Linked DNA regions of Homo sapiens: region 2 is linked to region 1. The links are contacts of gene promoters, found by promoter capture Hi-C in blood cells and fetal thymus (Javierre and others, 2016). All regions are on one chromosome and are shown on one strand. The core of a region is centred on a gene start or on the middle of the fragment in contact, and the rest is flanking DNA. Distances in the headings are between cores, read along the strand shown. Region 1 holds the start of CHADL (chondroadherin like). Region 2 holds the start of RBX1 (ring-box 1).

Evidence for each region. The method cuts DNA at HindIII sites, captures the fragments that hold promoters and counts their contacts. A CHiCAGO score of 5 or more calls a contact.
Region 2: a contact is called between the fragment with the promoter of RBX1 here and the fragment with the promoter of CHADL in region 1, in 3 of 17 cell types (neutrophils, erythroblasts and M0 macrophages). The highest score is 6.9, in neutrophils.

Annotation. Positions count from the first base shown.
Region 1 is chr22:41,237,866-41,244,047 of GRCh38, reverse strand. It overlaps CHADL (chondroadherin like), which reads left to right and starts at 3,117. Exons shown (of 6, transcript NM_138481.2): 1 at 3,117-3,174; 2 at 4,428-4,605; 3 at 5,163-6,182. The coding sequence starts at 3,167. RefSeq lists enhancers at 2,513-3,013, 3,014-3,514, 4,964-5,551, 5,552-6,140, 6,141-6,182 and a silencer at 5,827-6,182. The HindIII fragment of the contact is 52,914 bases long and covers 1-6,182 here.
Region 2 is chr22:40,947,626-40,953,807 of GRCh38, reverse strand. It overlaps RBX1 (ring-box 1), which reads right to left and starts at 2,430. Exons shown (of 5, transcript NM_014248.4): 1 at 2,332-2,430; 2 at 175-253. The coding sequence starts at 2,409. RefSeq lists enhancers at 1,110-1,698, 2,154-2,363, 2,878-3,468 and a silencer at 2,414-2,993. The HindIII fragment of the contact is 5,907 bases long and covers 1,858-6,182 here.

The sequences.
Region 1 (6,182 bases), core at 1,868-4,367:
TTATGCCCTCACTAGAATGGCTAAAATACAAAATACAGTACCAAGTTTGGTGAGGATTTGGGGCAACTGGAGTGGCTGGCAGATGTGTAAATTGGTACAACCTTTTTTTTTTTTTTTTTTTTTTTTGAGACAGGGTCTTGCCATGTCACCCAGGCTGGGGTGCAGTGGTGTGATCACAGCTCACTGCAGCCTCGACCTCCTGGGCTCACTTAGTCTTCGTGCCTCAGCCTCCCAAGTAGCTGGGACCATGTCACAAGCCACCACGTTCAGCTTTTTTTTGTAAAGACAGGGTCTCATTGTGTTGTCCAGGCTGGTCTTGAATTATTGGGCTCAAGTGATCCTCCCGCCTCAGCTCACTTAACAGGCATGAACCACCATGCCCGGCTACAGTGCTCTTTCTAATAAACCCATGCTGGAAACAACCCAAATGTCTATCACTAGAGGAATGGGTAAGCTACTTGTGGTACGGTGTGGTACCGAGAAGGTAGGAATGGTCTGCCCAAGAAGAAATATTTTAGCATTGACATTGTTTAGACTTGTCAGCACATGATAATAAAAAGCAGAGACCAACTTTAAGTCAGTTCCATTGTGTCTCACTTCTCCACTGACAGCACACCCGCTTACTGCCTGCATTGTGGGCAGACTGCCTCCCGCCCCTGCCCCATGCCACTGTTGTCATATATTTATAGAATGGAAGGCTGGAATGCTGAATTTAAAAAAAAAATTAAAATAGATGAAGCCGGGTGCGGGCTCACACCTGTAAATCCTAGGACTTTGGGAGGTTGAGGCGGGCGGATCACTTGAGGTCAGGAGTTTGTGACCTGCCTGGCCAATATGGTGAGACCCGTCTCTACTAAAAATACAAAAATTAGCTGGGTGTGGTGGCGGGTGCCTGTAATCCCAGCTACTCGGGAAGCTGAAGCAGAATTCCTTGAACCTGGGAGGCGGAGGTTGCAGTGAGCTGAGATCACGCCACTGTACTCTAGCCTGGGCAACGAGAGCTAGACTCCGTCTCAAAAAAAAAATAAAAAGATGATTCTCACTAACATAATATTGAGTGGAAAACGCCAGACACAGCCAGGTGCAGTGGCTCATGCCTGTAATCCTAACGCTTTGGGAGGCCGAGGTGGGAGGATCACTTGTGCCCCGGAGTTCAAGACCAGCCTGGACAACATAGCAAGACCCCAACTCTACAACAAATTTTAAAACCAGCTGGAGGTGGCGGTGCATATCTGGAGGTCCCAGCTGCTTGGGAGGCTGGTATGTCAAGGCCGCAGTGAGCCATGATCACACTTCACTCACACCTGGGCAACAGTGAGACCCTGTCTCAAAAAAAGGACGAAAGAGCACACTGAAGTTCCATTGATTGGAATTTGCCAAGCAAAAAAAGCACAAAGCAGATGGCTGTGTGGCATGGCACTATTTCTTTTTTTAAAATGTTACTGCAGGGCTGGGCGTGGTGACTCATGCCTGTAATCCCAGCACTTTGGGAGATCAAGGCGGGCAGATCACTTGAGGTCAGGAGTTCGGGACCGGCCTGGCCAACATGGCGAAACCCCGTCTCTACTAAAAATGCAAAAATTAACCAGATGTGGTGGTACACATCTGTCATCCCAGCTACTTGGGAAGCTGAGGCAGGAGAATCGCATGAACCAGGGAGGTGGAGGTTGCAGTGAGCTCCAGCCTGGGCGATAAAGTGAGACTCTGTCTCAAAAAACAAAAAACTCCTGCAGTCTAGGAAAAGTACACACAGATGTTCATTGTTTAACATATATAAATATATATAAACATATACATTTATATTTTTATTATATATAAATATATACACACATAAGTGTATACACACACACATACATATATATATATATATATATATATATATATATATATATATATATATATATGTATATATTTTTTTTCTTTTTTGAGACAGTTTCACTCTGTTGCCCAGGCTAGAGTGCAGTGGCGCCATCTCGGCTCTCGCGTTCATGCCATTTGCCTGCCTCAGCCTCCCAAGTAGCTGGGACTACAGGCGCCTGCCACCACACCCGGCTAATTTTTTGTACTTTTAGTAGAGATAGGGTTTCACTGTGTTAGCCAGGATGGTCTTGATCTCGACCTCGTGATCCACCCGCCTCCGCCTCCCAAAGTGCTGGGATTACAGGCGTGAGCCACCGCGCCCGGCCTTTTTTTTTTCTCTTGAGACAGAGTCTGTGTTGCCCAGGCTGGTCTCAAACTCCTGGGCTCAAGTGATCCTCCCACCTCAGCCTCCCAAAGTGCTGGGATTACAGGCATGAGCCACTGTGCCTGACCCCTGTTTCCAATTAAAGGAACAAACAGTAGAAGATGCAATTCCATCAGAAGCAGGAATCTGAAAAATCAAGATACATGAACATTGGCCATGGTCTGGATGTATTATTTAAAAAACAAACACGAGCTTGGGAAGATGCGTATTTGGATATTCTTTGCAATATTGTTTGTAAATAGCAAAAAATTGGAGGTAGCCAATGTCCAAGATGAATGGCTAAGTCAATGTGATACATTTACACAATGGAATACTATATACCACAGAATAATGAGATTCGGAAGAGTCAATTTGGATAACTCCCAGTAATCTGAGGTTAAGTGAAAAAAATGAGTGTCTAGAATCCTGTGTGTCCAGTATTAAACTATTTATGTCAATGTGTAAGCACAAACGGAAGGAAAGGGTCACCTGTTCTGAAGCACCCACTGTGTGCCAGGTGCGGGCCTGAACCCCCACTGTGACCTCAGAGCTACTTATTAATGGGATGTGTTTTTCAGAGACTAGGAAGCAGCCTCTGGGAGGGCAGCCCACATGGCAGGAGGGAGCCCAGGACTGCTGACTCCCGGGCCAGCTGCTGGTGCCCCCTCCCTGTCGGGCTGGCCCAAGGATTCAGGCCGGGGCCTCAGTCCTCGGCTGGGGCAGGCAGGAGGCCCTGTAACTCCAGCCGCTGCTCCCGCCCGCCGCCCGCCCCTTCTTCACCTCAGCCTGGGGAAGCCTGGCTTGCCTGGTCTGCCGACAATGCCTCCCATTCAGCCCTGTCCCAGCTGCCAGGCCTGCGGGCCGTGGAGGGGGGCTCCTGCCAGGCGGGGACAGCCTGTCCCTGCGCTGCGCCTCCAGGCTGGACCAGCAGTTCCAGGCGGCATGGAGGGGTGAGTCTTTGGGCCCGATGGTGCAAGGGGGGATTCAGAGCAGCTCAGTGGCCTCAGGTAAGTCTCTGCCCCCTCTGGGCCTCTCAGAGGCTGGCGGGCAGGGGCTCTGGGGACTTCCTGGGGTTCTCCAGGAAGGGGGTCTCCCAAGGTGGGCTCTGAGACACGTGGCAATGTGGCCACTGCCAGGAACTGGTCCTCTGGGGCTTGTCTGAGAGCCCAGCAGTGGTCCCTGCATTATGAATGCTTGTCGCTTCAGCGATCTGTCCCCATGGGTCCCCTCCCTGGCCTGCCCTGAGGCACAGCCTTCACCACAGGCTCTGGAGAAGCCACCAACTCCAACGCAGGGGCTGGAGCCTGGGACCCAAAGGAGACTCCAAAACAGACGATAGTCCAGTGAGCAGCGAGGGGGAGGCTCCTGGGGGCCGGGGAACAGCCCAGCGATGGGGGAGAGGCCATGCCTGACACAGGCTGAGAACAGAGGGGCCAGCTGGGCAGGGGAGGTGATCTATCATCCTAGCGCTTTGGGAGGCCAAGGTGGGACAATCACTTGAGGCCAGGAGTTCAAGACCAGCCCGGGCAACATAGCGAGACCCTGTCTCTACCAGAAGTAATTAAAAAATTAGCCAGGCGTGGTGGTGTGTGCCTGTAGTCCCAGCTACTCAAGAGGCTGAGGTGAGAGGATCACTTTAGCCCAGGAGGTGAAGGCTGCAGTAAGCCATAGTCATTCCACTGCACTCCAGACTCCAGCCTGGGCAACAGAGCAAGGCTTGTCTCTATTTAAACAAACAAACAAAAAAAGACTCAAGGACCCGGACTGGATGCCTCCCTCCTTTCTGGGGGGTACCATTATGCTCCTGCCACCTGGGAGCTGGCATCATATCAGTCTGAGGACAGGCTGCTTCCGAGCCTACCCTGGACCAGAGCCTCACCACAGCCTGAGAACATGCTCTGAACTGGAGTCATTCTCACAGTCAGCAAGTCCTCACTGAGCCATTGGGCAGAGGCAAAGGGACTAACCAGGTCACTTTTCTGAGCCTCGGTTTCCTCCCATGTAAAACAGGACTAATCATAGGACCTCCACTGCGTGGGGGGTGGGGGGCAGGGAGGCTCAGGGTGATTGGCACTTTCCTGGGCCCAAAGGAGGAGGCTCTGAGGGGTTTTTGGGGCAGGAGCTGCACCATGGCTGGGACTAAGTGAGGGACAGCATGTGGCCTCGGCCCTTGTGCACAACAGACTCTCCCTCCCCGTCCCAGGCCCCGGAGCTCCACCCATGTCCCCTTGGTGCTGCCGCTTCTTGTACTTCTGCTGCTGGCCCCGGCTAGGCAGGCCGCCGCCCAGCGCTGCCCACAGGCCTGCATCTGTGACAACTCCAGGCGACACGTTGCCTGCCGGTACCAGAACCTCACTGAGGTGCCAGACGCCATCCCTGAGGTCAGCAGGGCAGGAGCACAGGCACAGAGTGGCAGTGGGGCAAGGTGGGGACCCAGAGGGAGGAGCCTGGGCTGGGCACCAGTTGATCTGCCACCGCCTGCCCGGGAGACCTTGGCAAATTACTTCTCTTTGAGCCTCAGTTTACACTTCTGTAAAATGGGAATAATAAAAACCAGTAACAGGGAGATGATCTATTTAAAATCCTTACTGTGTGAATGGAATAAGTAGGTGACCCATAGATCGATACTGAATTCACTGCAGACCCTGTGGTGGAGAGGCGGGCTGTGGCAGGGTGAGGTGTGGTCTCTGCTCTGCAGAGTCATCAGCTAGTGGAGGAGAGAGAGCGAGGAGGCAGGGACAGCACAGTGTGAAAAATGCCACAGTGGGTGATGCCCAGGGCACTGGAGAGGAAGGCTTCCTGGAGGAGGTGTCAGGGGTCGGATGAAGAGAAATATGGGAAAGGTGACAGGAGAAAAGAGTGTTCCGGGGAAGAAGCAGCACTTGCAAAGGCGGGGTCCCTGCCTGGCTCAGCCCCACTTTCTCCTCGCTGTCCCCAGCTGACCCAGCGGCTGGACCTGCAGGGCAATTTGCTGAAGGTGATCCCCGCAGCCGCCTTCCAGGGCGTGCCTCACCTCACACACCTGGACCTGCGCCACTGCGAGGTGGAGCTGGTGGCCGAGGGCGCCTTCCGTGGCCTGGGCCGCCTGCTCCTGCTCAACCTGGCCTCCAACCACCTGCGTGAGCTGCCCCAGGAGGCGCTGGACGGGCTGGGCTCGTTGCGGCGGCTGGAGCTGGAGGGGAACGCACTGGAGGAGCTGCGGCCGGGGACGTTCGGGGCACTGGGTGCGCTGGCCACGCTAAACCTGGCCCACAACGCCCTGGTTTACCTGCCCGCCATGGCCTTCCAGGGGCTACTGCGCGTCCGCTGGCTGCGGCTGTCGCACAACGCGCTCAGCGTGCTGGCCCCCGAGGCCCTGGCTGGCCTGCCCGCCCTGAGACGGCTCAGCCTACACCACAACGAGCTCCAGGCTCTGCCCGGGCCTGTCTTGTCCCAGGCCCGCGGCCTGGCCCGTCTGGAGCTGGGCCACAACCCGCTCACCTACGCGGGCGAGGAGGACGGGCTGGCGCTGCCCGGCCTGCGGGAGCTGCTGCTGGACGGCGGGGCCCTGCAGGCCCTGGGTCCCAGGGCCTTCGCACACTGTCCGCGCCTGCACACCCTCGACCTCCGCGGGAACCAGCTAGACACCCTGCCCCCGCTGCAGGGCCCGGGCCAGCTGCGCCGGCTGCGGCTGCAGGGGAATCCGCTGTGGTGCGGCTGCCAGGCGCGGCCCCTACTCGAGTGGCTGGCGCGGGCGCGCGTGCGCTCGGACGGCGCGTGCCAGGGGCCGCGGCGCCTGCGGGGCGAGGCTCTGGACGCCCTGCGGCCCTGGGACCTGCGCTGCCCTGGGGACGCGGCGCAGGAAGAGGAAGAGCTGGAAGAGCGGGCTGTGGCCGGGCCCCGCGCCCCTCCGCGCGGCCCTCCGCGCGGCCCCGGGGAGGAGCGGGCAGTCGCGCCTTGCCCTCGCGCCTGCGTGTGC
Region 2 (6,182 bases), core at 1,181-3,680, 290 kb after region 1:
GACATCATAAAAAAACTACTCTATTTCAAACACACCAACAGACTAGATACAGAAGACCGAGTGCTCAGAGTAGGCTTGCTATCTCCTCGTGTGAAGAAGAAAATCAGTCACATCAAGATAGCCACAATCTCTGCAACCTTCTCAACTTCCTCCCATCCTCCTCCAATTACTTACAAAGATCCATAATGTGGTTCCTGCAGATGGCACAGTTATCAACCACAATATCCCAGGCCCAGAGGGCTACTGCATTCCACTGCAAAGACAAAAAGAGGGAACAGTGCATTCTGCTTGTAACACACACACATACTCTTTAGGACCTCAGGCTGCAGCTGCAGTTATCATCTCTTTGGCCACAGGGAACCACCAAACAAAAGTTTTTGGATATTACGTTAATCTTATTATACCAAAGACAACAGTAGACTACACGTATGTTCTATTCTCCAAAAGGCTGAGTATATGAACACAGAAATTAATGTCATCTTTTAATTTGTTTCCTATAGTTTAAAATAATTTAGTCTGGCCGGGTGCAGTGGCTCACGCCTATAGTCCTAGCATTTTGGGAGGCCGAGGCGGGCCGATCACTGAGGTCAGGAGTTCAAGACCAGCCTGGCCAACATGGCAAAATCCTATCTTTACTAAAAATACAAAAATTAGCCAGGCCTGGTGGCGGGTGTCTATAATACCAGCTGTTTGGGAAGCTGAGGCAGGAGAATCGCTTGAATCTGGGGGACGGAGGTTGCAGTGAGCCAAGATCGTGCCACTGCACTCCAGCCTGGGCGACAGAGTGAGACTCCATCTCAAAAAAAAAAAAAAAAAAAAAAAAAGGGCACAAACTTGAATTTCTGTGCAGGTTTTGGTGGCAGTTGCAGAAGAGCTCAAAATCTGAATAAGTATCTGCTCTACACAGCTCTGGAAGCATGAGCAATGAAGTGAAAGCTAGAGAACAGAATGAACTAAGATAATGACTGGATCATAAAATGGGTAATCATGGGATAAGCTGGATAATTAAATACCCGTGTCAGTACACAGAACAAGGTCATCACTTAAATCTTAGATTACTTCATAACAAATTCTACAATTCACTAGAATTTTGATTCTTACCATAAAATAAACTGATGTTCTCAACTTTTATATGTTTAGACTCTTCTATTAAGATAATAATTCCAGTAAGAGTTTAACAGAATTTCATTCATTCAACTCTGGCTTCCTCAATTACAAATACTCCCAAACCTTCTTCGCTTTCAAACCCCATTCTCAGTGCCTAGTAACTTCTTTACCACTTTTCACATCACAGCTTCAAGGTGGAGGAAAAGCCCCTACTTCTATTATTTTTCAATATGGCTGCTGGCTGTAACTGAGCAGCAGTGGCCACAATGAGACACCAAAAAGCACTAGGACGGGGGATATTGTCAGTGTTTAGCCAGATGTTCTAGGAATATCTTCCCTATTTTAGAATCTCCATTTTGAACAGCTTTCATGTTAGGTGAGAATCGATACTGTTCTCCCAAACTGTGGCAAACCACTAAAAGGCATTTCATGCAAAAAGACACGTTCCATTTTTGCTTTCCCACGCTTACCAAGTCGTTCGCGACTAGTACTCAACCCTCCCTAACTGCCACAGGATTTGGGCTCGGATTTTCTTAACAAGTTCCACCATGCTTTTTATTATTATTTTGGAAGGGGGAGATTCTGGACGTGACAGAGAACCCAAGAGTGGGGTGGTTGTGTGAAAAGCCAACAGACGTCTCAGAAGAGCCAAGCATTACACTCCAGACTCTAACCAGGCAGTGTGAGGCCTCGGTTCAGCGAGGATCCCTCCAAGTGAGAGGACCCCTCCAAGTGAGAGGACCCCAAGCTTCAAAAAGGGGCGGAGCAAGATCACCAAGGGGGGTCCTCAGAGGCCTCTAATGCGGTAGGACCTCAGGTTCCAGGCTCTCGCCGCACTGCCCCATCCTCCACCGCCGCATTCGCTTCGACTCCCCATTCCACCCACCCCACCCCACCCTACCCTGTCCTTCCCCCACCTCTCAACCACTCCAGTGACAGCTCAAGCGCTTGGCTCCCGCCGCCAAGTCGCAACCCCGCGTATCTCAATAAGCAGCTCTGTGATTGGCCCCTTAGCCTCACAGCGAAACCAACACTTCCCCCAACAGTGGGCCGCCGTCACGCCGATCAACTCTAAGACCCGCCCCCCGGCTTCCTTTCGTGGTACCCGGTCCCAGGAACGCCCTGAAATGAAACCCTTTACTCCGCGCCTCGACCATCCTCGGGCCTGCCAGCCAGATCCGCGCCTCTCTAGCTTCCCTGAGGAAGGCGCTGGCGAGACCCAACCTTTTTCACTTCAAAGCGCTTCTTGCCCGCGCCGCTGTTGGTGCCGCTCGGGGTATCCACATCCATCGCTGCCGCCATTTTGGAAACACACGGTCTGTCGTCCGACCACCGCGCCTGCGCAGCAGCGCACACTTCGCTCCCCCCACCTCCCCGGCACCTCCTCCCGCACCCCACCCCTTACTGGCGCGCGAGGCGGAGGTGGGGGCGGAGCACGTGACCACGCCTCTTAAAGGGGCTGTCGCAGGTCGCCCCACCCGCGAACTGTAGGCCGGGGAGGGGGCGGTGGCCGGAGTGGGTGGGGCGGGGCCGGGCGGGGCCGGGCGGGGCCGAGGCTACGTGAGCTAGCCGGGTGGAAACGTTCGAAAGGGCTCGACGTCGCCGCCTCCTCTGGGAAGCCCCCGGCCGCACTCCGTCAGCTGGGGCGGCGGCTGCTTCCTCCGCCTGAGCCAGACCTGCGCCGCAGTCCTGTCCTGCCTGCCGGGCTCGCCGAGTCGCCGCGCGGCTCCCGGTGCTGGCGTGGGTGGGCGCCCGCGGCCTGCCCCGAAACCCAAGAGTCCTCGCTGGTCTTTCGCAGACTCTGACCCGCTTCCGAGCCAGGCCCAAGGTGCAGTCCCCGTGGGAGGGCTGGGGCCCAGGCACCGTCTGGTCTCCGATTTCTGTTCGGGAACTGCTCAGGGATTCGATGGGGAGAGAGGAGACCCCCGAAGTTCCTCCCTAAGGCCACACTGAGCAGGCCCCCAGCCCTGCCTTTACTCGCCCGCCAAGCCTGGGGGGTGGCCTCTGCGCCCACATAGTCGCAGTCCTAGGACCGCCTTTGGTCGTGGTGCACGGTTTCACCGTAACGTGTGTCAGTCCCCACTCCGCATTCCTCAGTTGTCATCTTTGTAGGGTGATTTCTCCCCGATCTGTGTCCTTTTTCCGCTGCTTGTGCTGTAGTGAAACCGACCCATCTGCAGTCGCTGTATTTCTTGAATTTTTGTGAGGCATTCTTTTTTAACTCTTGTTGCCCAGGCTGGAGTGTAATGGCGCGATTTCGGCCCACTGCAACCTCCGCCTCCAGGATTCAAGCGATTCTCCTGCCTCAGCCTCCCGAGTAGCTGAGATTACAGGCGCCCGCCACCACGCCCGGCTAATTTTTTGTATTTTTAGTAGAAACGGGGTTTCACCACGTTAGCCAGGCTGGTCCCGAACTCCTGACCTCAGGTGATCCGCCTGCCTCGGCCTCCCAAAGTGCTAGAGCCGCTTTTTTTTTTTTTCTTTTTTAATTTTTTTAAAAAATAGAGACAAGGTCTCACTATGTTGCCTAGGCTGGTCTCGAACTCCTGGGCCCAAGTGATCCTCCCACTTCGGCCTCCCAAAGTGCTGGGATCACAGGAGTGAGCCATCCCACCCGACCCAAGCACCTGTACTTTGTCACTCTCCCATTTCTGGCTAGACCAGGACTCCCTTTGACATCTCTAACCTTGCAGAGGTGTGACTCTGCCAGAGCACTCTTAGATGTCGTACAGGTGCATTTGAAGCCTTGTATTTTCTCTTAAAAGATAACTGGCGGGTAATGGAGCGTGCTGACTCTATTGCTAAAGAGAAAGAATAGGCTGGGCGCGGTGGCTCACGCCTGGGAGCCACTTTGGGAGGCCGAGGCAGGTGGATTACCTGAGGTCAGGAGTTTGAGACCAGCCTGGCCAACATGACGAAACCCCGTCCCTACTAAAAATACAAAAATTAGCTGGGTGTGGTGGCACGCGCCTGTAGTCCCAGCTACTCAGGAGGCTGAGGCAGGAGAATCTCTTGAACCCGGGAGGTGGAGGTGGCAGTGAGCCGAGATCGAGCCACTCTACTCCAGCCTGGGTGACAGAGCGAGACTCCGTTCCCCCCCAAAAAAAATAATAAAAGAGAAAGAACTGAGATTTGTTTGTTAGTTATAAACAGCAACAACAGATCCGGGAAAAGACCACCACAGCTTTATCCAGACTTGGAAAGAAAAATTGTGTGAGACCTTAAAGGGCTACAAGAACCCTACAAAGTTTTTCTTAGCCCAAGTTTTAATGACTTTGTTAAAATTTCTGTTGTTAATTTGTTGTGTGCCTACAGGCCCTGACAGGAATACTAGAAACCCATTGTAAATTAAGGTCTTGAAGACATATTTATCAATCATTCAATAAAAGTATTGATATTTACCAGGTTCTGTTTTAAACAGAAGAGACATAATAACAGAGTCAAATAAACCCCTAGTTAGGGAATAATATGCAAGTCAACAAATAAATACATCAAGAAGTCTCAGGGCCAGTCGAGGTGGCTCTAGCCTGTAATCCCAGCACTTTGGGAGGCCGAGGTGGGAGAATCACCTAAGGTCAGGAGTTAGAGACCAGCCTGGCCAACATGGTGAAACCCTGTCTCTACTAAAAATACAAAAAAATTAGCCGGGCGTGGTGGCGGGTACCTGTAGTCCCAGCTACTCAGGAGGCTGAGGCAGGAGAATGGATTGAACCCGGGAGGTGGAGGTAGCAGTGAGCCAAGATCGTGCCTCCAGCCTGGGCAACAAAGTGAGAGTTTATCTCAAAAAAAAAAAAAAAAGTTTCACGTATCCGCCAGGCGGGGTGGCTTAGGTCTGTAATCCCAGCACTTTGGGAGGCCAAGGCAGCCGGATCACTTGAGTCCAGGAATTCCAGACCAGCCTGGCCAACATGGTGAAACGTCTCTACAAAAAATACAAAAGTAAGCTAGGCGTGGTGGCACATGCCTTTAGTCCCAGCTACTCTGGAGGCTGAGGGGGGAGGATTACCTGAGCCCATACATGGAGGTTGCAGTGAGCTGAGATGGCGCCACTGCATACCAGCCTGGGTGACAGAGCGAGACCCTATCTCATAATAAATTAGTAAAAAATGCTGCATTGAAAAAAGTCTCTGGCCGGGCATGGTGGCTCATGCCTGTAATCCCAGCACTTTGGGAGGCCGAGGTGGGTGGATTACCTGAGGTCAGGAGTTCAAGACCAGCCCAGCCAACATGGCAAAACCCCATCTCTACTCAAAATACAAAATTTAGCCGGGTGTGGTGGCTTGCACCTGTAATCCCAGCTACTTGGGAGGCTGAGGCAGGAGAATTGCTTGAACCCGGGACGTGACAGTTGCAGTGAGCCAAGATTGTGCCATTGCACTCCAGCCTGAGTGACAGAGTGAAACTCTGTCTCAAAAAAAAAAAAACAGTCTCAGGTATCAATAAGTGTTGTGAAGAAAACAAGGTAATGAGATTGAGGGGAGAAGGAGGCAACAGTAAATTGGGTGATTAAATAAGACTTCTGTGAAGAGTGACATTTAAGCTGAAGTCCTTTAAATGGTCCTACATGATCTACTTCCCCATCCAATTTACATGTACCTTCTAACATATTTTTTCTAAGTTGGGCATGTGGTCCCAGCTACTCAGGAAGCTAAGGAGGTGGGAGAATCCCTTGAACCTGGGAATTCGAGGCTGCAGTGAGCTGAAATTGCACCACTGCACTCCAGCCTGAGTGACAGAGCAAGACCCTATCTCCTAACAAACAAACATATTTTGACATTTACTTGTGTATTAGGATTATTGTTTTTTGTATGTCCTCAGCAAGAAAAGGGAATTTTGATTTGTTTATTGGTAACAAAAACTGGTACATTGTATGTGCTCATTATGTGTTGAGTAAATAAATTTGGAGCTTACTGAGCAAGCAGAAAGTAGTAAGAGATGTCAGAGAGGCAGGCAGGGGCCAGAGCATGCAGGGATTTTATTACAGATCTTATGGGAAGGCATTGAAGGTTATTATTTTTTTTCTTTTGTATGGTCTTGCTCTCTTGCCCAGGCTGGAGTGCAGTGGTGTAATCTCA